Regions from separate parts of the Homo sapiens genome. Here region 1 is linked to region 2. The links are contacts of gene promoters, found by promoter capture Hi-C in human tissues and cell types (Jung and others, 2019). All regions are on one chromosome and are shown on one strand. The core of a region is centred on a gene start or on the middle of the fragment in contact, and the rest is flanking DNA. Distances in the headings are between cores, read along the strand shown.

Region 1 (5,629 bases), core at 904-3,403, 830 kb after region 2:
GGAAAGAGAATGACAACCAGCTGTAAAGAAAGGAAAACAAGTGGTAGAGAACAGAAAATGAACTGTAACTAATTTGTTGCAACTTTTAAACCAGCCATGGCTAGGAAATCATGTAGTCCTGTTAAACTTCTTTGTTTTCTGCCGATATAAGCAATAACTTAACTTTTAACTTTTGGGCACTGACCCCATTTTACTGGAGTTTTTATCTCCCAGGTAGCCATTCCCAGGTTTTGCTTGAATTAACTCTTTAAAACTAGATTCTGACCCTTTTTATTATTTCAGTTTGACAACTTGGATGTGTTTTCATTTTCTATGAATTAACATGCTGAGAAATTTTAAAAATTTAGGCTTCATTGTACTAGTCCATTATATGTTGCTATAAAGGAATTACCTGAGACTCGGTAATATATCAAGAAAAGAGATTTAGTTGGTTTATGGTTCCACAGACTGTACAGGAAGCATGATACCACCATCTGCTTCTGCTAAGGCCTCAGAAAGCTTCCAGTCATGGCAGAAGACAAAGGGGGAGCAAGCATGTCACATGGTGAGAGGGGACAGGAAGTAGAGGGAGAAAGGCCATGCTCTTTTAAACAACCAGCTCTCATGTGAATGAATAGAGTGAGAACACCCTCATCACCAAGGGGATGGCAGCAAGCCATTCATGAGAGATCCACCTGGATGACCTGCAGACCTCCCAGTAGGCCCCTTTCCCAACATTGAGGGGTCACATTTCAGCATGAGATCTGGAGGGGACACACATTCAAATCATATCATTCATTCTTTGGAAGATGCATTTCTCTTTTTGGGAAGCTATGCCATCTATCATAAAGCTAAATAAACATTTAATAAAACCATTTAATTTTTAATACAGATACAGTGTATTGTCAGATAGTCTACAGATGAGTGTTTACCAAAATCTCTTCGTAAGTAGTCTGCTTATGAGGAAGAATTTGAATTAAATATAAAATATAGATCGCATTTGATATATACTAAAGAGGGGAACTCTCAATGAGCTCTTGTTAATTTGTTTGCAACTAAACCTTTTGAAGTGTAGAGATTCTTGCCTTAAGTCTGAAAAATTTTTATAGTGTTTTTCATACATACTGTTCAGACATGTGGATGCTAGTGAATGACACTCATATTTCTTGGCTATATCCTGGACCAACTGAGATACAGTGCCTAAGACATGTGGACTCACATAAAACATCAGTTTGATTACAGAGAAAAAAAAATGGGCAGAATTGTCTGGGCTATATGAGGTCTGCAGGCAGGCCCAGAGAGACATCAGTATGAGACTATAATCATGCTCCTGGTACCCATGCCATGGGCAATTGTTTAAAGTCATTTTGTTCCTGACTAGCTGCCTCACCCATTATCTTCATGGTGCTGGAATTTGTGATAAAAAGAATGTAGAGTCAATCAATAGCTTATGTTATTTTAATGTAAATTCTTGTTAAACAACTCAGGAACTGCCTTGTCTCTGCCTTTAAAAATCTGCTTATAACTGCAACTAATTAGAGTGTATATTCAGGGCAACTTGAATCTAGGATCCCTGGTTGCAATTCTCAAGATTGTCTCATGGAAACTCTCTACTTTCCAGGTGTGGTGGCTCACGCCTGTAATCCCACCTCTTTGGGAGGCCAAGGTGGGCGGATCACCAGGTCAGGAGTTCGAGACCAGCCTGGCCAACATGGCGAAACCCCATCTCTTCTAAAAATACAAAAATTAGCTAAGCGTGGTGGCAGACACCTGTAATCCCAGCTACTCGGGAGGCTGAGGCAGGAGAATCATTTGAACCCAGGAGATGGAGGTTGCAGTGAGCCAAGATCGCACCATAGCACTCAAGCCTGGGTAACAGGGCAAGACTCCATCTCAAAAAGAAAAAAACCAAAAAAACAAAAAACAAAACAAAACAAAAAGAAAACTCTCCACTTATATTAATTTTGCCTCAGCCTCCCCCATTTAGGTCAACAGGATTATCTGGCGTAAGTCAACAGGATTCACAGAGACTCCTCCTGAAAACCTTGTGTTTCTCTGAAGTTGGGGCTTGGTACCAGCAGGAATTCTCTGTCCTCAGAAGTCTCATGGGTTGTTTTGGGTGAGTTATCCTGAATTTGGACCTCCCACTCTTTGGTTGAAGGTCTAGACTTTATTTGGACTGTTTTTCCAACCCTGTATTTCCTTTAAGAGTGAGGGCTTCAGTCTCTGTCTTTGAACAGGAGAATGAGGTAAAGATCTCCTCAGAGAACTGCCTCTGTTTCCACCTTGGTCTCACAGCAGAGGTTCAAGTCAAAGGACTGGCAATTAGGCACTGTTGGTTTTATTTTATACAACATTTTTTTAGGACTACAGCTGTCTTCTATAGCTGGAAAATTCAGACTTAGTCTTTAATTTGTGACCCATTCCTGTTAGTTCGTAAATGAAATGTGTACCTTGTTTTTTGCTCTTCTAGACACGTATAATATTGGGGTCTTATCCCTCATACCTTGAGCACTCTGCTACCACTTGGCAGTTAGAGACAGTCTGAGACATGTCACACTTCAACCCAAAATACATTCCCAGCCTTGATTACTTTCCCTAAATTATGGAAAAATCAAGCCTTAAAATCTGAACACTCTTTGTAGAAACATCAGATGGATTTATATATACCACTTATAAGGCAATCTCTTGTAAATATCTAGGAAAGTGGCCCTGCTTAACCTGGACAGTCACAATCAGTAGTAGCCAAAATAGGGATTCTTTGAAATATTTAAAATAATTCATTTGCATGCGTAATTGAAATAAAAAAAGCTGTTTTAGAACCAGGATAACTAAATGACAGACCTACTTCCTGTTTGTCCTGGCTGAAATCCAGTAAGTTGAGATTTGAAATGATTTCTTTTTAGAGCACTATGACCAGAGGTCAGCTTAATTAAAAGTGGATATTTAGAAGATATATATCGATATATATATATATATATCAATATTTAGTATGTAGATAGTATAGATAAATATCTTCCAAATATCAACTTAAAATACATATATTTATTTAAGTAATGAGATAAATGCCAGGATCCCAAAGAAGGCCTTAAATATATTACAGGCCTTCTTAAATATATTATTGGTAAACAACTCAGGAACTGCCTTTTATTTCTTGAAAATTCTACTTGTAACTGCCACTGATCAGAGTGTATATTCATGGCAACTTGAATCTATGGTCCCTGACTGCAATCCTCAAGCTTGGCCCAAAGCTTTATTTTATTTTATTTTATTTTATTTATTTTTTGAGACAGAGTCTCACTTAGTCACCCAAGCTGGAGTGCAGTGGCACCATCACAGCTCACTACAGCCTTGACCTCAGGTGATCCTCCCACCTCAGCTTCCTGAGTAGCTGGAATTATAGACTTGCACCATCATGCCCAGCTAATTTTTGTATTTTTTGTAGAGAAAGGGTTTTACCATCTTGCTCAGGCGGTTCTCGAACTCCTGGACGCAAGTGATTTACCCAACTCAGCCTCCCAAAATTTTGGGATAACAAGCCTGAGCCACTACGCCAGGCGTGATATTTTCTTATTCATAAAAACAACAAGGAAACTGGTCAAAAAAAATAAAAAAAATGAAAATCAATTTTTTCAGATCTCTGGAAATTTGCCAAAAACTTTCAGCAATCTGGTGAGCATGTATTCAATTAAAAAAAAAAAGCTGAATTAAAAAAAGAACAACTAGCTTTGTGATGTTTTAACTTATCCTCATCCCAACTTCCCCTTCTCACCTCTGGTTACTTTGAAAGAAATCAATGGATCACAAGCACAGTAAAAGCCAGTCACCTGGCATCCACTAGAGGTTATAAAATTGGATTAGAGCCCCTTCAAAACCGCATTTTAAGAGATTTTAAAAACTATTTTATGTGTCTAGTGTTCTCTGGAAACTCAATTCACAAAGCTGGCTTTATTTAAACTGTCTGAGACTTTTCTAGTGCTAACAAGCTGGCCGCAATGTGGCAGCTGCCCAAGGTGGTGAATAACAAGAGGGGGAACAATAGGCTAACCAACATGTTTAGAAGAAATACATAGGGAATTGAGTGTAAGAATCACTGACTGCTCTGGGACTCAACCAACTGGAAGTCTCTCCTGGTGGACAGAGTCCATGAATGTAATTAAACAGTCTATGCAGAGTTGGGGATGAGTATGGCAGAGGAGAAGACTCTTGCTTTCATGGACAAAATAGCCCCAGTGTTGCATCCCATGCCCCCTCCTCCAGATGTTCAGTTGACCCCATTGCCAGAATCTTTGATAGGAGATCGTTGATATTTAGGAAGGTGTTTTATTTCTTCAGTGACAGAGTCCAGTTGCAGTAATTCATCAGGTCTAAATTAGTAAGGTTAGGACACCTGGGATAGTAGAAATTTCTATGGCTAGAGAGATGTCCATTTGTGATATACAGTGACATAGTTATAAGATGTTTTCCTGCAGGATTAGGCAAAGGTGGCATCCAATAGTTCATCAGATTCAGGGTGGTGGTAACTGTCTAGAATAGGCAGACCAAGAAATCTGGCAAGACACAAGTCACCTGGGCTACCTGTCCTGTCGGAGAGAGATAAGAAATGCTTGATTTATTCTTTTCCCTCAGAAGTGAGCTCTTCAGTAGGAATGTGCTCGTACCCTATCAGCTGGTTGGGATGGGGATTTTCCCCACTGACTGTGACGTGGGCAGTCTGTCCTGTACCATTTGTAATGAGAGAACCCTTGACCTAACCTCCAGGGTGGCAAATTCATGTAATTAGGCTTACATTCTCTTATGTATTGCACGGTAAAACTTTCTGTTTTATATGTTTTCCCCATGGGGCTATACTGGGTAAAGTGGAAGGGCCACATTAAGGAAAATGCTTAACTAGGGCTTTTCAATATACTTACAGTAGTTTAAATTTTTGATTACACAGCCTATTCTAAATAGCAAGGGGCCTCAAATTGATGGTCTTTATTTTTGTGGTCCTTGTAGATAAAAACCTATGCCATGCACCTGGGGGTAAATGAAGAAGGAGTTCATTGTCTCCCACCTTGTAGACAAAAACCTATGCCTTGCAACTGGGGGATAAATACAGGAGTTCATTGTATTGCTTTTTAATGTCCATCTTGATCTCCCTTTGATTTGAGTCTTCAGCAAGGGGCCAAAGATGATAGAAAGTCCTTACAGAGTACCCAATGGAGACTGAGATGTCAATAATTGTAAAAGAATGATGTACAAAATGAGGAACAGGGACGACAGCCTGATCAAACAAGGGGCACAAATAAGAACAACCTTTTCAGGGAATCCCTGCATTGAGATACAAGGATGCTAGCTTGAGATGTGTAGTTCAGGCCATGGTTATCTCATTTCCTCTTATCAGCAGCTTCAAGCCTGCCCTTCAATTTTTCATTAAAATGTTTAACTATACTTTTTGCTTGAGGATAATATGGAGCATGTAGAATTCATGGTATAGCCCATGATTGGGTCCAGTGTTGTGTAGCTTGAGCTGCAAATCTAGGGCCATTATCAGATAATCATTTGCTCAGGGAACCTGAATAGGAAATAAATTTGACCCTCTAGGACCTGGATAATTTGGCCCCAGTCAGAGGACTATAGAGGACTGACTATGTCAATTCTGGAAAAT
Region 2 (5,872 bases), core at 3,086-5,585:
CAATATTTTTTGAATCCATTCATATGAGCTCGAAAACTCTGTGCATTGACACGTTGATAGATGCTTGCTCTTATTGAAAGTTAATTCCCATTGTTTACTAGTGTGGGAAAATCAAACATTTTTACCAAGCCAAAACAGAAAGGCAAAATACAGCTTTAGGGGGAAACTCATAGCAGTATTACTTGGAAAGCAGGATGAGGGTGTCTGTGAAGTTGACAACTAAATAAAAAAAATACGAAAATGCATAAAAACTAGAATAGTTAACACAAACCTGAGTCTGCTAAATCTGTATGTTAATGTTCATTCCCCATGATGTGGCTATATAAAGAGCGGGTTTTAATTCCCTTCAATTGAGAAGATGAAACTTATAACATTAATAATCTATATTTATCATGGAGAATAAAATAGGTTTATTTGGCTTTGCACCCTCAGCATTCATGGTACATCCTTTGATTATGCAGTGGTTCTTTAAGTGGCCAGTTACTATAATTCTGAGTTCATTTTGACCCCAAATTATTGATGACAATGAGCAAATCTTTTATTTAAGGCCAAACCTAGGTTTCTGTATTAAATGTGGTAGGTTTCAGCTTTCCAGTTAAGCAGCATTTATTAAACCATGTTCTGTCTTTCTCCAATTAATATTACCTCAATAAATATTGATATCAAACAATTTCTTAAACCTATAACTTTTATTCATACTATACATTTATCCAGGTTCTTGTAGAATTTAAGAAGCCTGTTTACACAGTGAGAATTAAAGTTTATATGTGCATTAATCTGATAATTTGAGGGGTAGAATAGCAAAAAGTTATAGTCAGCTTTTAGCCAGTATTTCTGAAAAAGTCCGCCACTCCTTTATGAAATGTGCCATTTTGATGGTGGATTTATAATTACAAATGATAAAAATTGTCTCTCTTAGTGTATCTTTCTGTGTGTTAATGTAAATACTAGCAAGAAAAGACCTTTCACAGTAGTCTTGATTAAATTTAACAATCTTATCCAAAGCCACCAAAATGCCTATGCTATGATATATAATAGAGAAAATGAAAAACAACATAATCTCAATTTTAACATATATTGAGATTTCAAATAATTCCAATGAAACTAATTGAGATTTAAAATTAAACTGATATAATCTCATGAAAATTGTAATTGCTGCTTAGATAAAATACGTGTGTGTGCATAATGAAATAGTGTTCTTTAATTTGCGGGTTTATTTATTAGTAGTGAGTTTTTAATTCATATATCTTAAATTTTATTTCCATAATTTTAAGAAAACATATTTGAAAATTCTCTTTAGTATATCCTACCCACATAAACACACACACACACACACACACACATGCACACATATAAATTTGTTTAAGGTCACAATTTGGAATTAGCTAAGAAATTTAATATAAATATATTGTGTCAATATTTCTTTCAATAACAAAATACTGTATTTAAATGCCCTTTACCACAGTAGACATATACCTAATAGACATTTTAAATAGAACATTACAATGAAATAAAACATATGTGGAGAGCACAAAAGGGCCCAAGGGAGCAAGAGATAGAAAGTAAGAAAGTAATGGAAGTAAAGAAGATGCCATATATATATATATATATATATATATATATATATATATATATATGCTCTTTTTTGTGTATATGCTGTTTGTATTTATATATGCTCTTTCTTTCTATTATATATTTTTATATATATGCTCTTTCTTTTTAACCTTTTTATAGTGATTCCAAATTATATATATATATAAAATAGGTTGAAGTCTAATATAAAATTACAGAATGACAAGCATGTAATGAATTTTGGAGATAACAGGATAACCTATATATTTTACAAATGATGTGTGTGATGAAAAGGTTTAAATAACTTGCCCTCAGTCACATTGCCATTTAGGACAGTACAAAACCAAGAATCCGCTAGGAGGATATTCTCAATGCTTTTCTGCATGTATTCATCTTTGTTCATGCTTCCCAAAATAGCTCTTTTCCTTTTTTTTTCTTTTCTTTCTTTCTTTCTTCTGTCCCTCTTTTTAAAGACAGTGAAAAAATGAGAAAATGATTTGGCTTTCCTTTCCATCTTTCAAAGGAAGGTTTGTTTTCTAGTTTTATTCCCTCAGGTTTTTCAATAATATTATGACTGCTTTAATTGAATTCATAGTCCAAAACATTATGATCACTGGAGTAAACTGAAAAATTATGTCCATTATACAAACAACATAGGTCTTGGTGGAATTTTATAAGCATACATCATGTACTCTCTATATTGCTAAAGTGAACTATCAAGATTTCTCTGACATTTCAGCACATTGGCATGAAGCAGACCAAAGTGTGCTATGCGATGTTCCCAAAAGAAGCATATCATGTGCGCCGTAGCCAGCCTAAGTTCAAGTTATACAGTTGGCTCCATTGTAATTGTAATTGTGCAACACCCATCTGCCCCCACAGATCATCTTTCCTGACATATCATGGTGTCTGCCACCTTTATTAAAATGACTTTGGGAATTGAAGAACTCATAATACATGCATGTATGGGTATATCTGTGCAAAAAGTCATGGCACTTGACACTTACAAATGCAAAATCAGTAGTTGTCTGAGAAAACAAAAACATTGCAGATTACCCAAAATGCAAAACTTGTAGTCAAGGTGTGTTGGAGAAATAGTACTGGGGATTGTACGTTCAGAAAAGAAATGGGCAATTTCTGGAATAAAGCCATAGAGAAAGTTTTATGTGGGTGTGAATCAGAATAAAAAAATGTTCCTTCCCTCAAGCAAAAACACCATAGTTTTTTCCTCTGTTATTTCTTCTTTTTTAAGTAACTAGAAAGAAGCAGTTTGGGGGTATGGGTCCACAAAGTAAATAGACTTCCTCAAATAACTTCTTAATATTAGAGAAAATAAAATGCATTATTTTTCCTGATGGGGAAATAAGTAAGTGTATTCCTTTGATTAGAGTCCCTGAAAAATGCTTGTGAGTGGATCCAGTGCTAGATGATATCAGACTCCTGGCATATGATGACACATATCAGTGTGTATGCATTCTGATGGAAAGCAATGTGTGAAATGCTATGACATTATTTGAATAAACAACCTTTTTTATTAAACATGCTTTATCCAACTTAAGAAAATTTAAGCTTAGTTTTAGATACCCACTTCTCTGTCCAAGTAAGTCATGATAGCTGTAGGTGGGACATGTGCATGGAATGTGAATAATCACCCTTCTGGATGATTGATTGCTTCAGTTCACTGAAAGTGTTTGTTTACAAGTTTAAGCAGTCTGTGGAATTTGGCATGACAGGCCCCCTTTCTCTTGCCTTCAAGGAGGCTAGAGCTTCACTGGGACAAGAAATATCACAAATACTGAGAGAATTGCTAAAGGCTATGTAAAGCTTCCAGCATAGCCCATCTTTCATAGAAATATTGATATAGTAGACATAATAAATATTGCATAACCTTCATAATTTTGGCAGTGGAAGTTGAAGCTGATAACTTTCACTTTTTATTATTTAATTTTTTTCCCTCTGGAATCTCCAAGTCTATACAGTTTGAGGATTTGTTTAAATCATGAGAATGAATAAGGAAGGTTCTGTAGGTTTTATAGGAACGCATATGAAGTATAATATATACTATGGAGCACTCGTATTTTTTTTCCTTAAGATTCTGTTTAGAAATGATGGTTAGCGCTGCAAGCTTTCACGTTTTCTCTCAGTGCTCAGAATTTTTTTTTTTTTCTTCCAGGCAAGTTTCTGCAGCAGCGACTCCCTCCAGAGGCTCCGTGAACCGAGGGAAGGGAGTAGGAACACCAAATACGGATCCGTTCAAATAACCAAATGGCAGGGAGAGGCAGCAAAGTTTGGGCAGGAAGATGAAAAGGATTGGAGATGTTTTCAAGAATGGTTGAATAGATTCATTCTATTTCTCCGTCTCCTCCCCACCCGCCTCCCACTCGGTCCTCTCCGTGCTCCACTGCCCCCTCTCTCCGCCCCGTCTTCCTTCCAGAGCTGTGCCCGCAGCGATCTTAGAGTGCGCAGAAACGGCAGTCCCCGCGAAGGCAAAGGCTCCAGCACCGTCAAAGCGTTTAGTTTCTACTGGACTGGTTGAGAATACATCCTGAAGTCCAAAGATGCCCACGCTGACGTTAAGCCTGAATTTTGTTGCCCCGATTGCCGCAGCTGACTCTAGCAGAAGCCCAGTCAAGGGGGCGGCCCCTCACCTCTCGGCGAGTTGATATGCAAAATAGTTACGTCAGATGGTGGGGGCGGGGCACCCCCGGGTTGAGTGGCAGCAGCTCCTGCCTAGGGAGGAGGAGCGAGAATCAGCCTGGTTCAGTGACTGAGACAAACTGGAGGTGAAAGGAGCTGGTACTGTCCACTGTGCTGTCGGTGCTGAACCTGAGACGCGAGCGGACCAGTTGCTCCAGCACCTGAAGGCAACGCCCTCTTGCACCCTCTGTGCCCTGTGGGACCCGCTTCACCAACAGGACCCATATCAACTTGACAAAGGAGTGTGGTATCGGACGTGGGAGAGAGTCCTCTGTTTGCCACCTGGGCGCTCATTCAGGCGTGACTTTGGAGATTTCTATAGTTTTAGACCAAACTATTTTTTTTTCCCCAGCTAAGACGATCTTTTGAGAGTTTTTTTTTTTTATTGTGATTTATATTTCCACAGCGTTTAGGAATCTTTCTGGGGGACTTTTGTGACTGTTAAAATAAGGTAAGAAAAATAATATTGTTATAAATGATTACAAGTGGGGGAGAAATACAGACTGCCATACAAAAATTTAAAAACAAGTTATGCTTATTTTTATAATTTGAAACTGGACTTTTGGCAATGATTACAAAAATATTTTAATAATTACTATTATTATTATTATTATTATTATTATTATTACAAGACAATCTGTTAGTGATTATGCACTAAATTCTAGAGGGGAAGTTGAGAGCTTTGCTTTTTGTGAAGTTGATGTCATTATGTTATATCTTGCTTTATAAATATAAATATTTTAGAGCAATACTTTCAGCAGGGTTCAAAGGATAGGAACCATTCCAGGAAACCCCCCAAATATATTAGCAAATGATGTTAAATAAATCAACCAACAAGTTGTTTAGAACAAATATAATCAAATAATTATTTGAATGGACTAGTCTCTGGTTAATCATCAATATTATTCCTATATCTAAAGCATAGACTTCAAAGTGCAGAGCTCTCTTAACATTTTTTGGAAGGGAGGAGGTAGGTATAGAAACATTTACATCATGCTGGGTCCATTTAGATGTGTTGTTATGCAGTAGATCCAAATAAAACTTGTGAAACTCAGTCTCTGAGCATTCCACACCCCAAGGTCATGTGTATTTCCAAGTTGGGGGCTGTTTGTTCTGCTGTTGACTAGCAAATGTCATCCCCTTGCAACCCCCTCAGGTTAGAGGTGGATGTAAATGGGAAGTTCTGATTTAATAATACAGTATTCGCTTGTATTATAGTCGCTTGTGCTGTTGGTAATTGAATGGAACTGGGAAGTGTGGGCTGAGAAAATGTCTCACTATTTCAGCAATGTTTAACCTCTTGCATGCTTAACAGAGAGCTTTTCTTTACTTAGAAGAATTTTCTTTTGAAGCTATGTTCCTTTTATCAATTGGCAGTGTGTTCTGAGTGTGTACAGAGAAAGAATTCAGTGTGGAAAACGACTGAACAATACTTCTCATAGTGAGCAATTATTAAATGATAGAAGTTATCCTGTGCTCTTTGTATTTCTTATTACTATTCATGACTTTGACAGGTGTGATGGTTTGCCTGATAAATGGAATTGTGGTCTCTCATTTATGTCATTTAGTAACATTAGATTAAGTATAAATGATGCCTGGAAAA

What was found. Contacts are between HindIII fragments. The study calls those that stand out against the background at their distance.
Region 1: a fragment that was not itself captured here is called in contact with the fragment with the promoter of FSTL5 in region 2 in 2 of the 25 tissues and cell types used here (H1 embryonic stem cells and dorsolateral prefrontal cortex).

The regions. Positions count from the first base shown.
Region 1 is chr4:161,334,569-161,340,197 of GRCh38, reverse strand. No RefSeq gene overlaps it. Among named protein-coding and RNA genes, the nearest start is that of FSTL5-AS1, 690 kb to the left of the region's middle. The HindIII fragment of the contact is 5,240 bases long and covers 1-4,773 here.
Region 2 is chr4:162,162,463-162,168,334 of GRCh38, reverse strand. It overlaps FSTL5 (follistatin like 5), which reads left to right and starts at 4,335. Exons shown (of 16, transcript NM_020116.5): 1 at 4,335-4,720. RefSeq lists an enhancer at 4,072-4,181. The HindIII fragment of the contact is 23,396 bases long and covers 1-5,872 here.